7 separate regions of the Homo sapiens genome follow, and all the other regions are linked to region 6. Evidence: promoter capture Hi-C in 16 types of primary human blood cells and fetal thymus (Javierre and others, 2016). All regions are on one chromosome and are shown on one strand. The core of a region is centred on a gene start or on the middle of the fragment in contact, and the rest is flanking DNA. Distances in the headings are between cores, read along the strand shown. Region 1 has its middle 5.3 kb from the start of HILPDA. Region 2 overlaps AHCYL2 (adenosylhomocysteinase like 2). Region 3 overlaps IMPDH1 (inosine monophosphate dehydrogenase 1). Region 4 overlaps SMO (smoothened, frizzled class receptor). Region 5 has its middle 20 kb from the start of TSPAN33. Region 6 holds the start of ATP6V1F (ATPase H+ transporting V1 subunit F). Region 7 has its middle 21 kb from the start of HILPDA.

What was found. Contacts are between HindIII fragments. The CHiCAGO score rates a contact against its expected background, and 5 or more counts as called.
Region 1: a fragment that was not itself captured here is called in contact with the fragment with the promoter of ATP6V1F in region 6 in 4 of 17 cell types (endothelial precursors, erythroblasts, fetal thymus and 1 more); the score reaches 7.8 in endothelial precursors.
Region 2: a contact is called between a fragment that was not itself captured here and the fragment with the promoter of ATP6V1F in region 6, in 1 of 17 cell types (naive B cells). The highest score is 5.1, in naive B cells.
Region 3: a contact is called between a fragment that was not itself captured here and the fragment with the promoter of ATP6V1F in region 6, in 1 of 17 cell types (naive B cells). The highest score is 5.3, in naive B cells.
Region 4: a contact is called between a fragment that was not itself captured here and the fragment with the promoter of ATP6V1F in region 6, in 1 of 17 cell types (naive B cells). The highest score is 5.4, in naive B cells.
Region 5: a contact is called between a fragment that was not itself captured here and the fragment with the promoter of ATP6V1F in region 6, in 1 of 17 cell types (M0 macrophages). The highest score is 5.1, in M0 macrophages.
Region 7: a fragment that was not itself captured here is called in contact with the fragment with the promoter of ATP6V1F in region 6 in 2 of 17 cell types (endothelial precursors and erythroblasts); the score reaches 8.2 in endothelial precursors.

What each region holds. Positions count from the first base shown.
Region 1 is chr7:128,459,396-128,462,905 of GRCh38, reverse strand. It overlaps the pseudogene EFCAB3P1. Among named protein-coding and RNA genes, the nearest start is that of HILPDA, 5.3 kb to the right of the region's middle. RefSeq lists an enhancer at 3,237-3,510. The HindIII fragment of the contact is 1,529 bases long and covers 1,266-2,794 here.
Region 2 is chr7:129,270,984-129,274,571 of GRCh38, reverse strand. All of the region lies in intron 1 of AHCYL2 (adenosylhomocysteinase like 2), which reads right to left. Among named protein-coding and RNA genes, the nearest start is that of AHCYL2, 48 kb to the right of the region's middle. RefSeq lists an enhancer at 2,490-2,784. The HindIII fragment of the contact is 1,538 bases long and covers 620-2,157 here.
Region 3 is chr7:128,400,876-128,404,240 of GRCh38, reverse strand. IMPDH1 (inosine monophosphate dehydrogenase 1) reads left to right here. Exons shown (of 17, transcript NM_000883.4): 5 at 487-535; 6 at 3,125-3,226; 7 at 3,350-3,365. Among named protein-coding and RNA genes, the nearest start is that of IMPDH1, 7.4 kb to the left of the region's middle. RefSeq lists an enhancer at 1-508. The HindIII fragment of the contact is 5,465 bases long and covers 1-3,365 here.
Region 4 is chr7:129,211,101-129,214,866 of GRCh38, reverse strand. It overlaps SMO (smoothened, frizzled class receptor), which reads right to left. Exons shown (of 12, transcript NM_005631.5): 10 at 3,754-3,766; 11 at 3,097-3,231; 12 at 1,322-2,843. The coding sequence ends at 2,416. Among named protein-coding and RNA genes, the nearest start is that of AHCYL2, 12 kb to the left of the region's middle. The HindIII fragment of the contact is 1,589 bases long and covers 1,495-3,083 here.
Region 5 is chr7:129,122,582-129,126,051 of GRCh38, reverse strand. No RefSeq gene overlaps it. Among named protein-coding and RNA genes, the nearest start is that of TSPAN33, 20 kb to the left of the region's middle. RefSeq lists an enhancer at 2,928-3,197. The HindIII fragment of the contact is 2,855 bases long and covers 370-3,224 here.
Region 6 is chr7:128,860,849-128,864,256 of GRCh38, reverse strand. It overlaps ATP6V1F (ATPase H+ transporting V1 subunit F), which reads right to left and starts at 1,401. Exons shown (of 2, transcript NM_004231.4): 1 at 1,195-1,401. The coding sequence starts at 1,352. It overlaps FLNC-AS1 (FLNC antisense RNA 1), which reads left to right and starts at 1,631. Exons shown (of 4, transcript NR_149055.1): 1 at 1,631-1,732. RefSeq lists enhancers at 1,108-1,597, 1,678-1,787. The HindIII fragment of the contact is 9,717 bases long and covers 1-1,964 here.
Region 7 is chr7:128,432,707-128,436,279 of GRCh38, reverse strand. It overlaps the pseudogene RPL37P16. Among named protein-coding and RNA genes, the nearest start is that of HILPDA, 21 kb to the left of the region's middle. The HindIII fragment of the contact is 2,238 bases long and covers 756-2,993 here.

The DNA.
Region 1 (3,510 bases), core at 781-3,280, 400 kb after region 6:
GAGACCGTGGAAAGCGGGAGACGGAGACGAGGGAGAGGGGGAGACCGTGGAAAGCAGGAGACAGAGACGACGGAGACGGGAGAGAGAGAGGGAGAGGGAGAAGGTGAGGGTGAGGGAGAGGGCACATTTTTGCTACTTTGTCCCTTGAATCTAAAAACTTCCCAACCTACAAGCTAGGTTGTTAATAAGGCAACACTTCATTTAGAAAACGTTTGTTTGGCCTACAGTGTGCCAGGATCTTTGTTCTTTGTAAAAAAACTTAATATAGATCTATGACCTCATGAGAATACGGCCTGAATAAGATTAACTGTCAGCAGTTCATCAACATTCTTTAATACAACACATCATTAGCATGGCTCTGAGAAAGTGTTATATTCTGTTCTTTTGTTGCAGATTGGACTACTAGAGTGAAGCAAATTGCCAAATTGTGGAGAAAAGCAAGCTCACAAGAGCACCATATGTGGTATTTTAAGAAACTCCTATCTTTTAAATATTTAAATACAGTGCTTGAACCTTATTTGTATTAGGTTAATAAAAAAACAAATTTCCATTTCAGAAAATGCTTGTTAGTACCTGTACAACAAGCAACTTTATTTTTACAGTGATTTTCTAACTCCTTATGTCTTAATACAGAGTGTGACATTTTTATAAGCAAGTTAACAGAAAAGGATCCCAGCACAGACACCAAGGTGGGCAGATCACTGGAGGTCAGGAGTTTGAGACCAGCCTGGCCAACATGGTGAAACCCCATCTCTACCAAAAAAAAAAAAAAATTAGCCCAGCATGGTGGTGGGTGCCTGTAATCCCAGCTACTCAGGAGGCTGATGCACAAGAATTGCTTGAACCCAGAGGCAGAGGTTGCAGTGAGCCGAGATTGTGCCACTGCACTCCAGCATGGGCGACAGAGCAAAACTCTCAAAAAAAAAAAAAAAAAAAAAGCACCACCAACAAAAACTAAAGAAAATGTGTGGCAAATCCAAGTAGAGACATATTTTAAGTATAAAATGCCCACCAGTATACAAACTTAGTATCACAAAAAAAGTATTTAACATATCTCATTAATAACACTTTATGTTATATTTTGGAATGATATCTTGAATACATTGCGTTAAATATGTTAAAAATATCTTCAGTTTCTTTTTACTCCTTAATGGGACACTAGAAAATTTTAAATTATATATGTAGTTTGCATTATGTTTTTATTGGACAGTGCTGGGCTAGATCTTATCTTCCAGCCCTTAATATTCTCATAGTTATCTTAAGCTTCAGAGGTAGTGTCATTCAAATTCAGAAAGCATTACACAGCATACAGTATATAAAATATTCCCTTCTTTAGGGTCCACTAGGTGGCACTAGAGTTCAGGCCACAAGCTAGTAAGATTTAAAATTTGTACTTGCACTTTGAAAAATTATTTATTTTTATTTATTTATTTTGAGATGGAGTCTCACTCTGTCACCCAGGCTGGAATGCAGTGGCACTATCTCAGCTCACTGCAACCTCTGCCTCCCAGGTTCAAGCAATTTTCCTGTCTCAGCCTCCCCAGTAGCTGGGACTACAGATGCTTGCCACCATGCCCAGCTAATTTTTGTATTTTTAGTAGAGACAGGGTTTCACCATATTGGTCAGACTGGTCTCGAACTCCTGATCTCAAATGATCTACCTGCCTTGGCCTCCCAAAGTGCTGGGATTACAGGTGTGAGCCACCGTGCCCAGCCTTAATTTTTTAGGAGACAGGGTCTAGTTCTGTCACCCAGGCTGCAGCACAGTGGCATGATCATGGCTCACTGCAGCCTCAAACTCCTGGGCTCAAGTGATCCTCCCACTTCAACCCCTTTGGTAGCTAGGACTAAAGGTGTGCGCCACTATGCCCAGCTAACGCTTAAAAAAATGTTGGGGGAGTAGTGGGCCGGGTGCGGTGGCTCACACCTGTAATCCCAGCACTTTGGAAGGCTGAGACGGGTGGATCACTTGAGTCCAAGGGGTTCGAGGACAGTCTGGGCAACATGGTAAAACTCCATCTCTACAAAAAATACAAAAATTAGCTGGGCATGGTGGTGTGCACCTGTAGTCCCAGTTACTGGGGAGGCTGAGACAGGAGAATTGCTTGAGCCCGGGAGGTGGAGGTTGCAGTGAACCACAATGCCACCACTGCACTCCAGTCTGGGTAACAAAATGAGACCCTGAATGGAAAAAAAAATTTTTTTAAATAATTTTTTTTAAATAAAGACGGGGTCTTGCTCTGTTCCCCAGGCTGGTCTTGAACTCCTAGGCTCAAGCAATCCTCCTGCCTAAGCCTCCCAAAGTGCTGGGGTTACAGGTACGAGCCACTGTGCCTGGCCTGTACTTGCAGTTCTCTTTTTTTTGAGATGGAGTTTCACTTTTGTTGCCCAGGCTGGAGTGCAATGGCGCATCTTGGCTCACTGCAACCTCCGACCCCCAGGTTCAAGTGATTCTCTTGCCTCAGCCTGCTGAATAGCTGGTATTACAGGCACCTGCCACCACGCCCAGCTATTTTTTGTATTTTTAATAGAGATGGAGTTTCCCCATGTTGGCCAGGCTGGTCACAAACTCCTGACCTCAGGTGATGCACCCGCGTCGGCCTCCCAAAGTGCTGGGATTACAGGCGTGAGGCACTGCACCTGGCCTGAACTTGCAGTTTTCTAAATGAGCTGTGCATAGGCTCATCTCCATGCCTTTGCTCCCGTTGTTCCCTCCGCTGAGACACCTTTTCCTAAGTTGGCCAGCAGCCTACAACCTACGCATTTTTAAAAAATTGAGATCCTCTAAGAAGCTTTTCCTGAACACCCCTCTCCTGCCTACAAATAACTTTATATACCCACTATCCTGTATACGTATTTCTATCACAAAACCATGACACATTATTTGTTCACATGCCTTCCTCCCAATACCTTGTGTACATCTGAGGCAGGTAGCGATGAGGTATTAGCTGATGCCTGGCATCCAATAGGTGCTGTACACAATGTACCAATCAGGATAAGCTAAGTTACACTTCAGTTAACAAAACCCCCAGATATCAGTAGCACAATTCCTGTGCTACAGTGCGGGTATCAGTCACCTTCCCAAAACAGGCCCAGTCCTTTTGCAGGGGGTGGGGGGTAATGGGAAATATAAGAACATACCCTAGAGAAAGCAACATGTCTAGAAGTCTCTCCCACATCACAGTCAGATTGGACAGATTAAGGGCCCTGCGCCATGCATCCTCATTCCAGGACCTACACTAATGAACAGTTCCATAGGAAGCACTGCTGGTCACTGCACAGAGGGAAAAAGAGGTCCTCGCAGGTTTCTCCAGCACTGAAATGCTCTCACGTAGAATTAACGCAAGCCACTACCACTCACAGCTCATTGGCCAGAACTAATGACATGGCTCCATCCAACCACAAGGGGGTGGTGGCACACAGATCACTTCAATTAAACTAAGCCACTTGGAGGAGAGACTTAAGGTGCAGGCTCTCCAATTGAAGGTTCAAAAATACCCCAAATTAGAA
Region 2 (3,588 bases), core at 139-2,638, 410 kb before region 6:
GCCCAGATTCAAGGGGACAAGGGAAATAGACTCCACCACTGAATAGCAAGAAGGGAAGAAATTGGTGGCGGCCACTTTGGATACAAGCTACCACAGACCACCCTCTGGCCCCAACAAGGCCCTCCCACATGCAAAATACACTCACCCTCTTCTAAGACCTTCAAAAGTCTCATTTCATTATGGCATCAGCTTGATGTCCAGAATCTCGATATCTAAATCAGGTCCAGATGTGGTTGAGGCTCCTCAGATGCAGTTCCTCAGGTACAGCTACTGCAGTATAGTTCCTCCTGATCTGAATTAAAGAAACAAATTATCTGCTCCCACACACCCAACATACAAACATACAATAGTGAGACTGACTTAAGATAAGCACAATAGACACTCTCATTCAAAATGTGAGGAAAAAGGGAGAAGGAACAGGAGACACATAACAGTTACTGGCCCATAACAATTCTGAAATCTAATCAGACACATATCACCAGTTCCTCTATTACAGCCAAGTCCTACACCTTGAGAATGACTCTCCACAACCCTTGGCTCCACCCTCTAAGTTTCTGAATTAACCTTCTTTTTACATAAGAGATGGGTTAATTTTTGCAATGGAGTGGCCTTATAAGCTTGTTTCCTGCCTATAGATGATTGGAAATCTAAAGGCCTATTTTCACTTTCTACTGTCTCTGTTCCTCTTTTATTATTATGATTTCTTTAAAATCTTGTGGATTTCCTATGAATCTTATTGGGATTCACTCCAGCAGACAAAAGCCACATCCACCTTTTCTATCGCAAGTCTTATGTGAGGCTACTGTGAGAAAACACACTTAAGATCCCTAGAAGCCCTATTGTTTAACATAGTAAGCCTAAGAAGTATTCCCTTAAGACCTCTAGATATCCCTTTATCTAATTGAAAGGTTTTGTGAGGCATTGTCTTAAATCTTTCTGAAGTCGGCCAGGCGCAGTGGCTCATGCCTATAATCCCAGCACTTTGGGAGGCCGAGGTGGGCGGATCACCTGAGGTCGGGAGTTCGAGACGAGCCTGACCATCATGGAGAAACCTCGTCTCTACTAAAAATACAAAATTAGCCAGGCGTGGTGATGCATGCCTGTAATCCCAGATACTAGGGAGGTTGAGGCAGGAGAATTGCTTGAACCAGGGAGGCAGAGGTTGCGGTGAGCCAAGATCATGCCATTGCACTCCAGCCTGGGCAACAAGAGCGAAACTCCGTCTCAAAAAAAAAAAAAAAAAAAAAAAAGTCTTAGCAAAGGGATTTACAGTTGCATCACTGAGATCTTTACTTTGAGGCCATATTTTATTGGTAGCATCTTGAATTTTATCTTTCCTCTGAAGCCATTTATTTAGAAGTCATTGGTCAGGCTAGGCGCAGTGGCTCATGCCTATAATCCCAGCACTTTGGGAGGCTAAGGCGGATGGATCACTTGAGCTCAGGAGTTTGAGACCAGCCTGGCTGATATGGTGAAACCCTGTCTCTACCAAAAATACAAAAAAACAGCTGGGCATCATGGCGGGCACCTGTAATCCCAGCTACTCAGGAGGTTGAGGCAGGAGAATCACTTGATCCCGGGAGGCAGAGGTTGCAGTGAGCACCACTGCACTCCAGCCTAAGTGACAGAAAAACTATCTCAAAATAATAATAATAATAATAAAATAAAAGTCATTGGCCATTTGAAGCAACTAGAGATGAGAAAAAGTTTTATTTTCTATAATAACACAACCATTCCTGGGTTAGAAATATTTCCTCTAAGTTCTGTTTTAAAACTTAGTAGTTCATTTTTTAGTTCATTTATCAATTTGTACCTTATCATACTTAGAAAAAACTAGGTAACATTTTTTCAACATTCTGCCTAGAAATCTCCTTAGATACACTGAAGTCATTAGATACATTTTCTATGGTCTATGTAACCACATGTGGCAGTACCAATAAACCTTGAATCACTATATAACAAAGGTTCACTCTTTTCCCAGCCTCCAATAACACTTTTCTCTCTGTGTTTCAAGCCTTCACTGTCTTCTCAAGGTCCCTCCATCTTTAACCCTCACCAAATTCCAAAGCCAATGCAAATTGTAGGTTTTGGCAGCACCTTATTTCAAGGTACCAAATTTGGTTTCAGTTATCTATCACTACAAACTACCCTAAAGCTTAGTGGCATAAAACTACAACCATTTTATTATACTCACAATTCTGATTCAGACAGAGTATAGCAGGAACAGCTCGTGTCTGCTCTATAACATCTGGGGCCTCAGGTAAGGTGGCTCCATTGATTGAGGATAACTAGACTGGGAGCCATACGCCTAGGGCCTGGGCTTTTCTCCATATGATGCCCACTGGAACTGGAACTCACGTAGCTGAAAAGTGATGCTAGCTGTTGGCTAGGAGCTCAGCTGAGCCTCTCCATCTGGCTTGGACTCCTCACAGCATGGCAGCTAGGTTCCAAGACTAAATGTTCCATAGCACAGCAATCCAAAAGAGAATGTTCAAATAGGCCTAGATGGAAGCTGCAAAACTTTTCATGACCTGGCCTTGAAAGTCCCAGAATGTTATCTCTGCCACATTTCACCAAACAAGTCACTAAGGCCAGCCCAGATTTGGTATGAACAGAGGAATAAACTCCACCACTAGATGGGGGTGGTGCACATGTGGAGGGAAGGAACTAACATCAGCCATCTTGAAAACATGCTACAACAATCTGTCTTTGTTTCAATAAGTGTAATTCATTTATGTTCAGTATGATTACTGATGCATTTGGATTTATCTCTACCATCTTTTATTATGCTTTCTATTTATCCTATCTTTTCTATGACATTTATTACATTTTCCTTATCTGCTTTCTATTAAATGGAGGAAGTATACAAATTATAAATTCAATGAATTATAACAGAGTGAAACAGCCATGTAACTATCACCCAGGACAAAAATCCAATGTTACCCGCACCCGGGTTTTTAGCTTTATATAAATAAAATAACATAGTATATATTATTTTACATCTGGCTTCCTTCCTTCAACATTATTGTTATTCAGCCATGATCTTATGCATAGCAGCAATTTATTCATTTCCATTGCTTAATAGTATTCTGTTCTATGAATATACCATAATGTATCCATTCTACCATTGATATTGTCCACCAAATTTTAAGTTTCAGTGACTATATTTTTTGAAGGTCTATTTTAAAACTCTTTTTTTTTTTTTTTTTTTTGGAGACAGTCTCGTTCTGTTGCCCAGGCTGGATTGCAGTGGCACCATCTCGGCTCACTGCAAGCTCCACCTCTCGGGTTCACGCCATTCTTCTGCCTTAGCCTCCCGAATAGCTGGGACTACAGGCGCCTGCCACCACGCCCAGCTAATTTTTTGTATTTTTAGTAGAAACGGGATTTCACCGTGTTAGCCAGGATGGTCTCATCTCCTGACCTCGTGATCCGCCCGCCTCGGCCTCCCAAAGTGCTGGGATTACAGGCATGAGCCACCACGCCCGGCCCAAACTTTTTTTTTTTAGAGCACCTTTAGCTGTGAGATTTGGTGTGGCCTAGATTGAGGATATCCCTATAGAGAAGTTTTGCACTTGCTTCAGCCTG
Region 3 (3,365 bases), core at 344-2,843, 460 kb after region 6:
GACTCAGCAGCCCAGGCACCGGGGCATGCGGACTGTCCTGTGCTGGGTCATGTTCATACTGTGTTGAGCGCCACAAAATTGTTCTCAGGTTTGTTCCCAATGTTTACTTATTTTCTCTCCCCATCAAGATTGAGAAGTTTTCAAAGGCAGGCACTGTGTCTGCTGTGTGTGGCGATATGGGAACTTCTGTGTCGCTTGACAAACTCTGAGACTTAAAGGCAATGGATATTTTGGGCCTATTACCTTGATGGTACCCCAGTAGACCTTTCGCTGTCTTTGGCTCTAGCTCTGGGGGCTGGAGTTTGCCAGACTCTAGTGAGGTGCACGAGGTGGGAACTGCCCTGATGGGGCAGTAGGGATGGGGGGCTGTAGCCTCTGCTCCTCTAGGCTTTTCTGTACCCCCCTGCTGCCTCCTCTGGCATGGCAGGCTCTGCCCCTTTGGGGCACCCCTCCCCACTAATAACACTCACTTCTCTGTCTTCACAGCGACTTCCTGATTCTCCCAGGATTCATAGACTTCATAGCTGATGAGGTGGTGAGTACCTCTTCCTTTGACAAGGGGAGGGGGCTGTGTATGTGGTGGAAGAGGCTGACTTCTTGCTCAGGGGCAGGGCATGGAGAGATGGAGAGACTTTTCTTGGGAATGGGTGGATAGGATATAGTCCTTTTTTTTTTTTTTTTTGGAGACAGAGTCTTGCTCTGTCACACAGGCTGGAGTGCAGTGGTGTGATCTCAGCTCACTGCAGCCTCCACCTCCCAGATTCAAGTGATTCTCCTGCCTCAGCCTCCTGAGTAACTGGGATTACAGGCACATGCCAAAACCCCCCGATAATTTTTGTGTTTTTAGTGGAGACGGGGTTTCACCATGTTGGCCAGGCTGGTCTCAAACTCCTGAGCTCAAGTGATCCGTCCGCCTCAGCCTCCGAAGACGCTGTGATTACAGGGGTGATTCCACCCAGCTGGTATGGGTGGATATAGCCTTTATTGTTGCCAGAGAAACAGGCAGAGATCAAAGGGTTATACCTGATGGGGCAGAGGCAGCTATGGGAACACAGGAGTGTCCTGAGTGAGGCCTGGCCCAGGGCTGGGTGGCTCTCTGTCAGTGACAGAGCCTGTGGGCAGGTTCAGAAGAGGCCTGGGAAGGGGTGGGCTTGGGAGTGGGAACGGTGGGCTTGGGAGTGGCTGCCTTATTGTAGAGACCATAAGGATTGGATTTTGTCTGGAATGCTGAACAAGGACATGATAGAAGCCAGTGAAATTATGGAGATTTGAAACCGGTAGACAGACTTGTTCACTGATCCACAATGTACAAGAACTGGCAAGAGGGTTTAAAAGAGTTACATTTTGGATAAATACAAGGAAACGCAGTGCCTTGCTTTCCCAGAGGGGCTCATCAGTGAGCCGAATCAATGAACAATTAACATATGATAAACTCAGAGAAGCCCAGATGGGTAGTGATGATGGTGTAAGTCATTTCAAGAAAAAGTGCCATGATTCAATGATGAATTCATATACATTAAAAAAAAAACATTTCTTTTCTGTTGCTATTATTATTGCTATTTATTCTGGTCTGATTCTCATGAAAGGCCAGAGGGCCTGAGTGTGCCTGGATCACTTACATGTGAGGGAAGTTCACATCCAGCTGGTGTTTAGCCAGAGCTGACCCAGACAGATTTTCAGGGGGAAATTCGAATGATTCTGGTTGTTTCCCTTATGACAACAACCAGGAAGCCTGCTTGGTGCAGCTGTTCAGTTTAACAAAGTTTACTGGCCAGTGTGGCTTTGTGTCAGACCCTGGGCTGGCTGCTAGGAAGGGAGGGATTGAAAAGACCCCTACCAGCTGGGCGTGGTGGCTCATGCCTGTAATCCCAGCATTTTGGGAGGCTGAGGCAGGAGGATCACCTGAGGTCAGGAGTTTGAGACCAGCCTGGCCAACATGGTGAAACCCCATCTCTACTAAAAATGCAAAAATTAGCTGGGCATTGTGGCGGGCATCTGTAATCCCAGCTACTCGGGAGGCTGAGGCAGGAGAATCACTTGAATCTGGGAGGCGGAGGTTGCAGTGAGTCGGGATTGCACTACTGTACTCTAGCCTGGGTGACAGAATGAGGCTCCATCAGAGAGAGAAAAAAAAAAAAACCCTGCCTGGCCGGCAAGGATCTCCTTGTCCTGTGGCTTCTGTCAGGAAGGCTGTGGCCCTTCTGTGGCATGACAAAAGAGAAGATGGTGTTTTCTAGATCATGGGGCCAGAGGTCTGAACTAGGGTTAGTGATGGGTTTCAGGGACTTTGAATCTAAAAAAATTACATAGCAAAGTCTGCACAAATGTCTTGGGGACTGGGATCCACTACTGTTGGCCTGACCCTCAGAGGGGTATGTGCTCTGGCCTTTCCTCCATGGGCAGGTGGCTTTTAAATGGATACTTGCAATCCTGACCACTCTCCTGAGCTCCAGACCATTCGTTGCTTGCTTTCCTGGATGCCTAAAAGACTCTTTTCCATGCCTACCCCCACCTCAGCCCTTGTCACCCAGAATCCATTCTCCACCTTGGAGCCTGAGTGACCTTTTTGAAACATAAATCAGATCATTTCTCTGTCAAGACCCTCCAGTGGCTTCTCTCCGAATCAAATCTGAGCTTCTGTCCGTGGTCTTCACGGCCATGCATGCTGCCCCTGCCTTCCTCCTGCCTCTCCCTTCCCTCCACTCCCCTGGCCTTCTTTTTCTTTCTTAAGTGTGCCTCCGAAAGAACTGGACCCTGAGGCGGGTTTGCACTCAGTCCCTCAGCCGAGAGTGACAGCCCCTCTGACTTCTACTTAATCGGCTCCCACTGGTCACCTCCCAGGAAAGAGGCTTTCCCCAGTCACCTTGTTGCCAGTGGTCGCTTGGCCTTTTTGTTTTTCTCTGCAGCCTTCATCCTGACTGAAGTCATCTTGAGCATATGTCCTGTGTCTGTCATTTTTCTTTCCAAGTAGAACATAAGCTCCATTAGATGAGCTGGGAACTCATCCACCTTGTTCACTGCCATGTCCCCAGGGCCTGTCCTGGTGCCGGTGCATGTAGGAGCTCAGTGAGTGAGTGTCCAGTGGGTGATAAACTCTTTACGTGGGCTGTGCCTCCATCCTCAGGACCTGACCTCAGCCCTGACCCGGAAGATCACGCTGAAGACGCCACTGATCTCCTCCCCCATGGACACTGTGACAGAGGCTGACATGGCCATTGCCATGGCTGTGAGTTACACACCTGCATGGGGACTCCAGGGCACACAGGAACTGACCATGGTGGGCTGTGCTGAGGGGCAGGGCTGAGGAGGAATGGGCCCCGGCTCTGACCACACTTCCCTTCTACATCAGCTGATGGGAGGTATTG
Region 4 (3,766 bases), core at 1,040-3,539, 350 kb before region 6:
CTAAAAATACAGAAACTAGTGGGGTGTGGTAGTGCGCGCCTGAAATCCCAGCTACTTGGGGGGCTGAGGCAGAAGAATCGCTTGAACCAGGGAGGCAGAGGTTACAGTGAACTGAGATGGCACCACTGCACTCCAGCCTGGGCGATGGAGCAAGGCTCATTCTCAAAATAAATAAATAAATAAATAAATAAATAAATAAATAAACAAACAAAAATTAGCTGGGCATGGTGGCACACGTCTGTAATCCCAGCTACTCGGGAGGCTGAGGCAGGAGAAATTCTTGAACCCAGGAGGCGGAGGTTGCAGTGAGCTGAGATTGTGCCACTGCACTCCAGCCTGGGCAATAGAGTGAAACTCTATTTCAACAACAAAAAAGAGTACTCCCCAAACAAGCCTGGTCTGTACTCCACAATACCCGCCAGGTCTGTGGGCACCAGCCCCTTTGCTACACAGACCTCCTTCTCTCATAATCCTGAGCCCTTGCACCCCAGTTCCCAGTCTTCTACTGATTATCTCATTGGAGGAAGTGGGGCTAACAGGCTTCCCTGACTGGCCAGGGGAGGAAGCTGTGGATCAGAATGCGTCTAGCCCAATGGACGTCCCTGGTAGAAGAAAGAGGCCCCCAGAGATGAGGTCCAGGAATGCCTCGAGGAGTCCTGCCCATCTCCACTCCCATCAGGCAGACACCATCACCCCAGGGGAAGCTGCATGCCTGTGCTCAATTATCTTGTGATCACTGCTCCGCGAGGCAGCCGTGGTCACAGAAGAGCTTTTGTTCATATAGAGCCGACTGGCTCAGGTGGACAGCCAGCACATGAGGGCGCCATCAGCCTGACATCTGACTGTCAGCCGTGGCCACATTAGCACAAAGCTCTTGGCCTTTCAGAGCACCCTCGGGAAGATGGGGAAGACCAAAAAGATTGGGACCAAGACAAGGTAAGGAGGCCAGGATCGGAGCCCATAGAAGAAAGAACGCACTAGCTGGGCGCGGTGGCTCACGCCTGTAATCCCAGCCCTTTGGAGCCCGAGGCGGGTGGATCACTTGAGGTCAGGAGTTCGAGACCAGCCTGGCCAACATGGTGAAACCCCCTCTTTACTAAAAATACAAAAATTAGCTGGGTGTGGTGGCAGGCACCTGTAATCCCAGCTACTCAGGAGGCTGAGGCAGAATTGCTTGAACCCAGGAGACGGAGGTTGCAGTGAGCCAATATCATGTCACTGCACTCCAGCCTGGGGGATAGAGTGAGACTTTTATCTCAATTAAAAAAAAAAAAAAGAGAGAGAAAGAAAAAGAAAAAAAAAAGGAAAAACACACCAAGAGTTTATACAAAAACCTTTTATTGACTGTATTTCTTCTCCCCATAACCTGGAACCCAGCCAGCATCTATGGCTTCCTGCTGTCTGATTCTTGAAAGTGGGGCCTTGGGAACATGTTTGGAGGCTATGGAAGGTGGGAATCTCCTCACCCACCGGCTATGCAGGTTGAAGGAAGCTTTCTTGCCTGGCTGAAGCTACGGCAGCTTCCCAGGGTAGCCCCTCAAGTCTAGAGGACCCATCCCCCACTAAATGGGTGTGAGGAAGAGATGATGCATCTTTCAGAGGCTTTGTCACTCACTGCTCCTATCCCACTCCAGACTGAGGCCCTAGAGCTGAACCAGTCTCTCCTGTGGAGATGGGGCCCAGCAGCGAGGGGAGGGGGTTAGAGGTGAGTGTGTGCAGCAGCTCTGGGTCCTCATCAACAAAAAGGAAACGCAAAGAGGTTGGCACCGCTGAAACTGAACTGAAATGGAACAGAAGAAGGAGGATATAGGAGAACAAAAGATGGGTTTGGGGTAGTGCCACCTATTAAGAGAGGACATGGCCCCTGTGGGAGCAGGTCCTTCCAGCCCCACAAACACCTGGGAGAGGAATACGGTGCCCTGGCCCTACTTAGACAAAGGACTAATGACACAGTCAACACTTTTGGACTGAGACTGCCAGGAAAGGGCACCCATCAGCCCAGAAAACGGCAGCCAGCCCTCATCTGCCAGACATAGGCTAGGCTGCCTCCCTGGCCACCAAAGCCCACTCTGGGAACTGTCACCTCTGCCTCCACCGTTCCTGCCCCACCACAAGCTCTGCATACCCCCTGCCCCGATGGAGCAGATGCTGCCAACCAGGCTGCAGCTGGCAGGGCAGAAACAAGGACCCTGAGCTCCAGGGCCCTGTCCCTGGGGTGAGGCCTCCCCATGGAGATGTTAGGCTCTTTCCCACAGTCCTGCTGCTTTGAGCCAGACATCCAGAACTCTCTTCGGAGGGCAGTCAGCCCACAGGTTCTCTGGAAGACGGGATCCTAGGGAAGCATGCTCGGTGAGGAAGAAGAGCCTTGAAGGTATTGGTTCCTCTCTTTCCTGTCCCAGGTCCTGCTCTGCAGGCTCAGAAGTCCGAGTCTGCATCCATGAGTTCTGTGTCCATCAGGTTGGTGCGGGAGTGAATAGGCCCCAGGCCCTGTCGGCGGCCATGAGCCCATGCCACGGGGGCCGGTGCACTGGGCAGAAATGGATCCTGAGGGGGACTGGGCTCTGGGCAGAATGGGTTGGAGACCAGGGTCCACGCTCCCTGTCGGCAAGAGTCCCCAGCTCCCCAGGCACCTGCAGCCACCAGGCATTTCTGCCGGGGCAGCTGAGGCAGTCGAGGAATGGTACTGGGGGCAGGGGCAGGGGGGTGAAGCTCAGGGGGCGGCGCCAGCGGGCACACCTCCTTCTTCCTCTTCCTCCTCTTCTTCTTCCGGCCCAGGCGCTTCTGCAGCTCTGGGGAGATCTCTGCCTCAACCAGCCACAGGTTGGCTTGTTCCTCTGGGGGCACTGACAGGAGGAGAGACAACACGAGCCTGGGGCCCTGGCTCTGTCCATGCCACCCCCGCTCCCCTGGGAGCACTTAACCTGTTAGTTCTGGGGCCCAGGTCTCTAGACTCTTAGAGCCTCAGCCCCACTCTTCAGATCCTCTGGGGCCTTTCCTTCCTCTTCCTCCTCCTCCGACAGCCCCTGTACTCCAGTCCCAGAAGCCCCCAGCCTCTGTGCTCCCCCCACCTTCCTCCAGAAGCTTGAACTCTCATACCTGGAGTTGCCACAGGGGTGACAGAAATATCCTGGGGCAGTATGGCTCCTCTCCGAGCCACCATCTTGGTGACATGCTGGGCCCAGGCAGAGGAGACATCAGCTGAGGGCTCATTGAGGTCAAAGGCCAAGCCCGCTGTGGGAATGGAAGGAAGGAAAGGAGAAGGAATAGTGACTTCCCGGTCCCTGGCAGTGCCTCCCATAGTCAGTGCCATTCATCTTCCCACAGCCAGTCCCTCCTGCTCACCAGAGAAAGCTCACCCTGTAACCACGGTGATCTCTACCCCTTCAGAATCTGAAGAGAAGGGCCTCACGTCCCCAAAGGGCCTAACTGGAGGCCAGAAATCCAGTTCTTGGAACCCTGACTTACTCTTGCCCAGGGAGAGCAACTGGAGAATTTATGAGAAGGGAGAGGGAGGGGAGTCTTCTTGGAACCCAAGCACCGGCAAGCAGACCCAGGGGCAGAAACAGAGAGGGGAGAGCCCCCCAGAGGGTAGGAGGGGCCGGGGGAAGAATGGGTGTGTGAGCGATGGAGGGAGCGCCTTGCTCCTCACAGTCGGTCTTCCAAATAATCTGTGTGCCCCCAGCAGGCTGGGAGAGACTAGCACATGGGCAGCGCGGGGCCAGGCGGCTCCGGTAGAGGAGGGGTGAGGCTCACCCACGGGCCCGTC
Region 5 (3,470 bases), core at 548-3,047, 260 kb before region 6:
ACTGAACTTTACTGCTTCTTACAGCAAGAGTGTATCTGACGAAGTCGTGACTTGGAACTGGCCAAGTCTAGGAAGGATCCAGAGTTTAATTCTGAAGAAGGGAAAGGAGGCTGATATTAAACATGCAATATTTCCAGGCTGTGCTCAGATCTTCATGTAGCTCATTTATGATTACAGAATACATTGCTAAAGAAAAATGGTAAAGAAACGATACTCGTATTTTGAGCAAATCCCCCTCCTCAGACTCCATTTCTAATTACTGCCATTTTCTGAAAGAGTTGTAAGCAATAAATTCTAACTCTGTTAGAAGAGAAGAAAATGTACTGCTCAGGAAGAGTCCTGCAAAACAGAAAAACTTCAAGACAAGCTTAAGCAGTGGTTGCAGATTTATTGCACATTACATTATTTGGATGGACAGGTGAATTTTCTTTGTCCCATAATGTCTTAAAATTTTTGAATTTGAGCTGGGCACGGTGGCTCATGTCTGTAATCCCAGCATTTTGGGAGGCCAAGATGGGAGAATCACTTGAGCCCAGGAGTTCAAGACCAGCCTGAACAACATAGAAAGACCTCTGTCTCCACAATTTTTTTTTTAAAAAAAATTAGCTGGGCATAGTGGTGAGCACCTGCAGTCCCAGCTACTCCGGAGGCTGAGGTGGGAGGATCATTTGAGTCCAGGAGTTTGAAGCTGCAGCGAGCTGTGATCATGCCACTGTACTCCAGCCTGGGCAAGAGAGCTAGACCTTGTCTCAAAAAAAAAAAAAAAATTGAATTTGAATGCTTTTAGCTTGAGCTTACTCTCTCCAATTAGCCATCATCTTTACCACTCCTAGTTACAAACACTATATTACTTCCCTGGACCTAGTAGGCATGCATAGAGGGAGATAGAGATCATTTGTGCAACTAGAGTGATACAGCCAATGAGTAGTCAGTAAAGAACGGAAATTAGGGGCACGCCATTATCAGGGACAGGTCTGTTAGAATCCCATAAAAAATTCCAGTTGTATTCAACCTCCACTGACAATGACGTGGTTCCAGATCACAGTGGATGGAGGAGACTCACCATGCAGAACTGAGTGACGCAGCAGGAGTAGCATCGTGGCAAAGGTAAGAGGTGAGGCTGTGCCAACCAGAACAGGCTGTATTGAGGAGGAGCAAGAAATAAGGTTGGAGGTGTTCGCGAAGGGTTTCAAAGGGCAGGCAGAAGAGTTCAGATTGTGTGAGGTGGAAAACAAATAAGGTTTGTTATTTGGGGCCCTGGAGTGCCTTGGAGATATCCTGTCTCTGGAATATCTGGAATTGCAACGGGAGTAAGAAGTTAGAAGAGCGGCTGTAGATGTGAAGAGGAGGAAAGGATCCAGGGGAATCGAAGTGAGGAGGTTGGCTTTTGTCTGTAGAATCAGGTCTGGTCAGAGAGGAAACTGGGCAACGCAATCATGATCTCAGGGGAAGCATCATGATTTGGTGGAGTTGAGACTGGGGCCGTGGACTGCAAACAAGGGGTTTGGGGATATTTCCTATCAGGAGCAGTCTCACATCCATATAGGGGTAGGCCACTGTGCACTTTTTATGTGAGAGGTTCCATAACGTTTCTCTTCCCTTACTTCTCACCCTCACCAACTTGTCTGAAATTCCCACCATTCTCTAATCCAATTCCCATTATGGTTAGGTTAAGGTGTGGAATCACTATTTAAAATTCAAATATAGGCTAGGTGCAGTGAGTGGCTCACGCCTGTAATCCCAGCACTTTGGGAGACTGAGGCAGGAGGATCACTTGAGGCCAGGAGTTCGAGACCAGCCTGGGCAACATGGCAAAACCCTGTCTCTACTAAAAATACAAAAACTAGCCAGCCGTGGTGGCTCACACCTGTAGTCCCAGCTACTCCGAATGCTGAAGCACAAGAATCGCTTGAATCCGGGAGGCGGAGGTTGCAGTGAGCCAAGATCGCACTACTGCACTCCAGCCTGGGTGACTGAGACACTGTCTCAAAAAAATAAAAATAAAAATAAAAATAAAATATTAAAAAGAAAATGCAGAAAATGCAAAGATTTCTAGGAGGGATACCCAGACCAATATCTGCACTTCAAATCTTAGAAGTTAAACATTTATCAAGACATGATTCTGTACACCCTCCATTCAAGCCACCAGAAATCTGAGACAGAATCTCATGTGTCTGAGACTCGACCACTCTGATTTTGAAGTGAAATTATTTCAAATGCTTAAATGGGTAGCACTGAGTGTTTGTCTGTTATTTTTCCAAGCCCAGCACCTATTCCCCGTTCTGGTACCAGCATGCTAGATTTCCTTTGGGATGCCACCCCACCTCCTGTCTCAGGCTCAGTGAGCATGGGAGAGATCTACCCTTCCACCTGGCAGGTGGAACGCCGGACTCTGTTCTGGCCAATCAGAGCCCAGGGATGGTTATGCGCTCTAACTTGGTCCAGTCAGAATGAAGCCTCTAATTTAGTTGGGGAGGAGGACCATTACTGAAAGGGATTCCCTCTCTCTTTTGCTGGGACCCCCTGGGATTACAGATGACCTGCAGCCACTGGGGGCTACCCCAGGGCTCCTGAGAGAGAAGGTAACACTGAGGAAAGGTAGAGCTGAGACAGGGTTAAACCAAGTCCCAGTGACATAGTTTGAGCCACAAGATCAGTGGTGCCTGAAACAAGCCCTAACCTTAGACTTTTCAGTTATGCGAATCAGTGAAATTGTGTGGTTGTTGTTTGTTGGTTTGGTGTTTTGTTTCATTTTGTCTAAGTCAGATAAAAATGGATTTTCAGTTATCTTGAAACTGAAAATCTGCTGACTGGCACGCCATCCCGCTGGCTTGTGTGCTGTGCACATTAACAAGACTCACCTTTTCTTAGGATTCATCCTATGTGCAAGATTACCAGGATGTAGCCAGATTCAGGATGCCTGTTTTTATAGCTTAGCTACAGAGTTTTTCTTCACCTCTAGCAATTGCCTATGCCCTTTCAGCGGCCTCAGCAGGGAGAAGCACAGTGGGACTCCTTGAAAGGCAGATCCAGAAGGCTGGTTATGTGGACAGTTCACCACAGTTAACTGGGGTAACCACAGTTGGCCTGGGCAGTCCAGAAGCAGATGACCCACCCCCATACTGTGGGCAGCTCTTCCTGCAGTGCTTAACTCCAGAAAAAAACCCTCCACCAGTTCCTTACTAAGGTGGTAAACAACCCTAAGAAATCTGGCTCTCTAAGCTTGGGACAGCCAAGAAATGAGTCAGCCTTCTGGAGAAACCCCCCTTGCCACAGCCTGTGCTTCCCCATTTCTGCCAGGGCCCCAGCCCCAGCCCCAGCCCCCATGTCAGTAAAGCCTATGCATTTCTTTCAAGAGCATGACAAAACCTCATATCTGAAAAGCACTGAAGTGCTGTACCTCTTTCAAAGTACTTGTGCATTCATTATCTCATTAGGATACCAGATTTGCTATTTTTTTCTTCAGATTC
Region 6 (3,408 bases), core at 152-2,651:
TTCTCCTTCCTCAGCCTCCTGATTTCTTGGGATTACAGGCACCCGCCACCACGCCTGGCTAATTTTTGTATTTTTAGTAGAAATGGGGTTTCACCATATTGGTCAGGCTAGTCTCAAACTCCCGAGCTCAGGTGATCCACCCGCCTCGGCCTCCAAAACTGTTGGGATTACAGGCGTGAGCCACTGCACCCAGACTCATTCGTTTATTTACTGATTAAAAATTACTTACTGAGCACCCACCCCCTGCCAGTCACTGGGTTAGATTTGATCTCTGAGGTCCCTTTTGGTTGGAAACATAAAAAATTCTTGAAGTAAAATTTGTCCTTCTCCCATGATAACTTGGGTCACTTTACCAGACAGCTTAGAGAATGGCAGATAACAGCCTCCCAGGTCAGGGACTACCTAATACACCAGGCAGCAGGAACCAGTCTCAGCCAGCAGCCCTGGGCTGGACTGTTTGGGGGAAACAGGTGAGTGGTTTATTCCTGAGACTTGGTACAGGGGCCCTGGAGAAGGGGTGAGGAATAAAATAGGAGGCTGGTATCCTTAATTCCAGTCACCAGGACCCCTGGTGGATTAAAAGCATGCCTGCACCCACACTCTGACCTAAGGCAGGCAGTGAGGGCTTGAGTGCAAGGTCTTAGCAGAAGGCTCTCACAGTCCCGACATTTCTGCCTACTGTGCTCAAGACTACAAGGAAATTCCGAGGCCGCCTGAGGAGACCTGCCAAGAGTGTGTACCTGGCTTACCGGAGGCAGAAAGGGTTGAGATTGGGTTCAAATTCTAGCTCTGCCTCTGCCGACTCGTAACTTTAGTGTGTGCCTTACCCTCTCCGAGCTTTAGTTTTCTCACCTGTGAGTAGGACAAAAATCATCCCTGCCTTACGGGACGATGGTGAGCCTCTAAAGGAGGAGAAAGCAGAACAAAGTCCAAGCCCACTGTCTAGGCTGTCACGAGCTCTGTTCCCCTTCTTTCATGACACACGATCATGTGAGGTGGGGGGGCTCGTGGACCTGATACAGCTTCTGTCCCACCGAGCCCCAAACGGGGACTTGGGGCGCGGAGGCCTCCGCTCCGGAAGGGCGGAAGGACTTTCAGGATCGTCCCCTCACCCCCGTCCGGGCAGCCTCCAGCCTCGCCCCGCACTCCACCGAGCAGCAGAAGGGCCCGTTCAGGCCTCGCGCGGTACCGTACCGGAAAGTGTCTTCGATCTCATTGATGGTTGTATCCTTCTCCACCACCAGGAAATTGGGATGGCGGTTCTTGTTAAGCTCCCCTATGCCGCCCAGCAGGAAACCAGTCACCGTGTCCTCGTCTCCGATCACTGCGATGAGCTTACCCCTCCCCGCCATCCCTGCAGCCGGGCAGAGCTCACCCTAGAGCACCAGAAGCCACTGAAACCCCGCCTCCGCCGTACGGCGCCCCGTCGGCCTCAACCCCCACCCTTCGAGCATGCGCAGTCCTCCCAGCCGCATTCCGGGACATGCGCATTAACAGCAACACGGCCTCCATGTGAATACGCCTGCGCCGTAAAGACAGGCCCGAACCAGGGGACTACGATTCCCAGAAGACCGCGCGGCACCACGTCCTTCGCGGGCATTCATTCGTTCATTCACTCGTTCCTTGGTTCATTCGTTCAACAAGCGCTTTGGACCTGACGCTGTTAGACGCCGAGACCCCAGAGAAGAGACGCAGTTACTCATCTCAAGGGCAGGGTCTGGGTCTTTATCGTGTATGTATGTGTGTAACTATGACACATAGTTAACAAGTAACACACGTTTGTTCAGTTAAAGGAATGCAAAAGTTAATGATGATACTGCCTAGTGAGGTGGAAAGTCAAGGGAACAGGCGACTACAAAGCTGTGTGTTAATGGTTAGAATGTGAAAAGTATATGGAAGCACACATCCATGGTAACTAACCCATGGAGAGAGGGGGCGTCCAAAGAACCCTTCCCCAAGAAGCTTGCTTCAGATCTAAGCTGAGACCTGAAGGACCTGCAGGATGAAGGGGATAGAAGTGAGGACAAGACGGTGTTCTAGGCAGAGGAACAGCATGTGCAAAGGCGTACTGACTAGAGAGCGTAGGGCCTTCAAGGAAAGTTAAATAATTGGTAAGGCCAGGCATGGTGGCTCACGCCACACCTGTAATCCCAGCACTTTGGGAGGCTGAGGCAGGTGGATCACCTGAGGTCAGGAGTTTGAGACCAGCCTGGCCAACATGGCGAAAACCCGTCTCTACTAAAAACACAAAAAATTAGCCGGGCGTGGTTGTGGGCGCCTGTAGTCCCAGCTACTCGAGAGGCTGAGGCAGGAGAATTGCTTCAACCCGGGAAGCGGAGGTTGCAGTGAGCCGAGATTGTGCCATTGCACTCCAGCCTGGGTGACAGAGCGAGACTCTGTCTCAAAAAAAAAAAAAAAAAAAAAAAAAAAAAATTAGCCAGGCGTGGTGGTGCACACTTATAGTTCCAGGTACTCGAGAAGCTGAGGCAGCAGGGCTTACTCAGGAGTTCAAGGTTACAGTGAGCTATGATCACGGCACTGCACTTAAACCTGAGCAGCAGAGCGAGACCCTGTCTAAAAAAAAAAAAAAAGGATCTGCAGGCTGGGCGCGGTGGCTCACGCCTGTAATCCCAGCACTTTGGGAGGCTGAGGCGGGTAGATCACCTGAAGTCAGGAGTTTGAGACCAGTCTGGCCAACATGGTGAAATCCCATCTCCACTAAAAATACAAAAAAAATTAGCCCAGTGAGGTGGTGTGTGCCTGTAGTCCCAGCTACTCGGGAGGCTGAGGCAGGACAATTGCTTGAACCCGGGCAAGGGAGGTTGCAGTGAGCTGAGATGGCGCCACTGCACTCCAGCCTAGGTGACAGAGTGAGACTCTGTCTAAAAAAAAAAAAAAAAAAAAAAAAAGATCTGGAAGTTATCCTGAGGACAGTTATCCTGAAGCTGCTGAGGGATTTCAAGTAAGAGAGTGCTATCGCCAAACTTACGTTTTAGAGCTGTCACTCACTGTTGACTGTGCTGTGTGCAGAGGCGAAACTGAGGGAGGAGAAACCAAATTGGGAGGCCACTGTGAGAGATAATGGTGGCCAGGACTCAGGTGGTGATAATGGGAAACGCAGAGAAGTAGGTAGAGCCGAGAGATATTTAGATATTTAGGACAAAACTGGTTTCAGAGTGGATGTGTTTGGGGAGTGAGGTAGAGAGAGAGACCTGGGTGATTTCCAGGTTTCTGGCCTGTGCAGCACATGGATGGGAGTAACATTGCCAAGAAAGTGACCTCTGTAAGATGAGCAGGCTGAAGGGGAAGGAGCCACTCTTTCCTCCTCCCTTTTAACAAATCAGCACTCCCGGTGTCTGGCATGGGGTTTGTGAGTTTGGAGTGCTTGAGACGTGCCCGTGGTCTGGT
Region 7 (3,573 bases), core at 625-3,124, 430 kb after region 6:
GGTGTGAGCTCCCATGCCCGACTTGTTATTTACTGTTATACATTTAAAAATATTCCTTTGTCATCTAGCTTCCTTGATGATAGAAGGTGAGGGTTTTATGTCATTCATTGCTTCTGGACAATTCCAGCCACTATCTCTTAGAATATTGCCTCTCTCTATTCTGTTTTCTTCTTACAGTACTTCAATTGGATGCATGTTCATCTTACTCAGTCTGGTCTTCATGTCTCTTAATATTTCCTTCATATTTTCCAAGTTTTTGGCCCTCTCTGCTTCATTCTATATAACTTTTTATATCTTGTAGGGGAGGGGGTTTGGCCTATTTTTGTTTCTGTATTTTTTTTAATTCACTAATTCTGTCTTCTGTCCTATCTAATCTGTTGTTTAACTTGCCCATTGAGTTTTTAATTTTGATTATCGTGGCTTTCAGTTTTAGATGTTCTATTGATTTATTTTTTTCAAATCTCATCTGTTTTGATAGCATATGGCTCCTTTGTCATGTTTTCAGTTTATTTTTATTTTTCTGTAAACATTTTTTAAATTCTTATTTTTTACTTCATACCTAATAATTCTGTTATAGGAAAATGGAAAGGATATTATGCAGCTGTTTCTTGGGTATGCTGGCATTTGCTCATGTAGGCTTGTTTCTGTGTGATTTATTTTTTGCATTTGAGCTTTACTTGTCCAAACTTTTTGTGTGGGAATCATACATAGCCTGGGTTAACTGCAGCTCCTCCAGAGAAGCTTTGCGCAAAGCTTCTTCAAGGAACTAACAATCCACCGCTAATGTTTGTTCATGTTTGATCTTGTGTTTGCCCATACCAGGCACAGTATGCATTCTGTTTGCAAATACGCCTGAAGCCCAGGATTGCAAATTCTCAGTGGAAATGTTTTTTCAGGTCCAGAATTATGGCTGAAGCAGATACATTTTCCCTTTCTCCCCCTTTTGTTGATGGGCCCCAGCTTTATGCCAGGCTTTGGTTATTAACATTACTGAACAGCCCCCTCCCCGTCCCCGCCCACCCAAATCCAGCCACAGCTTCAGGGTTCTCATTTCTTTGCTTTGTTTGTTTGTTTGTTGTCCCTGTAGCTTTCCCTTCCTCCTCCACCCTCAAGCTCTGCTATGCATTTAAAGGAATGTTTGTCATGCTTTAGGTGGGAATACTGTCTGATTATCTAGTTCCTATACTGCCTGAAATTGAATCCAGGGGGAAATAGTACAGATACAAACGCAGATAATTTCTAGTGTTCTCAGCCCCACTGGAGCCCATTATGGATCCATGTGCTCCAGAAGATGAGTTAATCAGACAAGATCAGGCATTCAGGGTGGTATGGCTGTAGACAGAAGATGAGTTAATCAGATAATGGAATTCCTATGCTATTAGATAATTGATGTATGACCTCTCTGGGTAAATTAGAACCTTGACCCAATCAGAATGCACTAGTTGTATTTTTTAATTTTAATTTTTTTATTTTTTTATTTATAGAGACAGGGTCTCAGTGTTACCCAGTCTGGTCTTGAACTTCCAAGTTCAAGTGATCCTCTTGCCTTGGCCTCCCAAAGTGTTGGGATTAAATGTGTGAGTCACCACACCCAGCTTTATTTATTTATTTTATGTATTTACTTACTTACTTTTAGAGACAGGGTATCTCTCTGTTGCCCAGGCTGGAGTGCAGTGGTGCAATCATAGCTTGCACCTTCAACCTCCTGGGCTCAAGTGATCCTCCTGAGTCAGCACCCTGCCCCACTCCCAGTAGCTGGAACTACAGGTACGTACCACTGTGCCCAGCTAATTAAATTTTTTTGTTTGTAGAGACAGGGTCTTGCTTGGTTGCACAGGCTGGTCTCAAACTCCTAGCCTCAAGTGTTCCTTCCACCTCAGCCTCCCAAAGCACTGGGATTACAGGTGTGAACCGCTACAGCAGCCTAGATAGAATGCATTATTTTTAAGAGGGATTATATGGGTTGGCTGTGTCCCCACCCAAATCTCATCTTGAATTGTAGTTCCCATAATCCCCATGTGTCCTCAGAGGGACCTGGTGGGAGGTAATTGAATCATGGGGCAGTTACCCCCATGCTGCTGTTCTCAAAATAGTGAGTGAGTTCTCATGAGAACTGATGGTTTTCTTAGGGGCTTCTCCCACACTTCTTGCTGCCACCAGGTGAAGAAGGATGTGTTTGCTTCCCCTTCCACCATGATTGTAAGTTTCCTGAGGCCTCCACAGCCATGAGGAACTGTGAGTCAATTAAACCTCTTTATAAATTACCCAGTCTCCAGCTGTTCTTTATAGTGGTGTGAGAACAGATTAATACAAGGGGTTTGAAGATGGGTAATCAGTGCTAAATCTTGCAGGTGGCCAGGAGGAGGGATGTTAGCCACAAAGGTTTGTTTTTCTGAGACCCTTCAATCAGTTACCCTCATGCTTAATTTTCCTACATGGAGCTTTAGGGGAAGCCATGAGGAACATGGTGTCTGACGCATAGTAAGTGTTCAATAAATATTTGCTGACCAGATGTAGTGGAAGTGCCTTATCTTCCAGTCTGTTTGGTCTCAGCTGCAGAAGTGAGATGATGAAGGGAATCTCATCGTTTGGAAAGCATCACAGTAAGACACACACATTGTGCCACCACTGTGGCTCTAAGGCCCACCACCTCCAGAAGACGACCTGTGGCAAATGTGGCTACCCTGCCAAACACAAGAGGAAATATAACTGGGTGCCAAGGCTAAATGGCGAAATACCACCAGAACTTGTTGAATGAGACACCTAAAAATTGTTTGCCACAGACTGAGGCACAGATTCCGAAAAGGAACACACCTAAACCCAAGAGGGTAGCCGTTGCAGCATCCAGTTCATCTTAAGAATTTCAGTGACTAGTCATGTGACAAATGTTCTAGTTTTAAAAAATAAATAAATAAATATTTGCTGACCGAAAGTTGAATGCATAACTGAGTCATTGTGTCACAAAACGACTCCCTAATTTTCTGCAGTAAGCTTCCCTCTCTGTTGATGTGACAATCCCCAACCCAGAGTTGGAGAATAAATTTGTAAAAACATTAATATTACGCCTGTAATTCCAGCACTTTGGGAGGCCGAGGTGGGCAGATTGCTTGAGCCTAGGAGTTTGAGACCAGCCTGGGCAACATGGCAAAGGCGAAACCCTGTCTCTACAAAAAAAAATACAAAAATTAGCCAGGCATGGTGGTGTGCGCCTATAGTGCCAGCTACTCAGGAGGCTGAGGTGGGAAAATCACCTGACTCCAGGAAGTCCAGGCTGCAGTGAGCCATGATTGCGCCACTGTCCTTCAGCCTGGGTGACAGGAGTGAGACCCTGAGACACACACACACACACACACACACACACACACACCAAAAGCCAAAACAAAACATTGATACAAATGAGAGTGCGTGAATACATTGGGGTGATGTGTGACAGCCATTTCAGATTAATTGAAGAAAGCTTCCTGTGCAAAGTGGACTTGGAGTTGAATGGTGAAGGATGGGCTGCCCCAACACTTACATATGAATTGGGAACAGTAATATCTATGGGGTACTTACTATGCCCCAGCACTATAC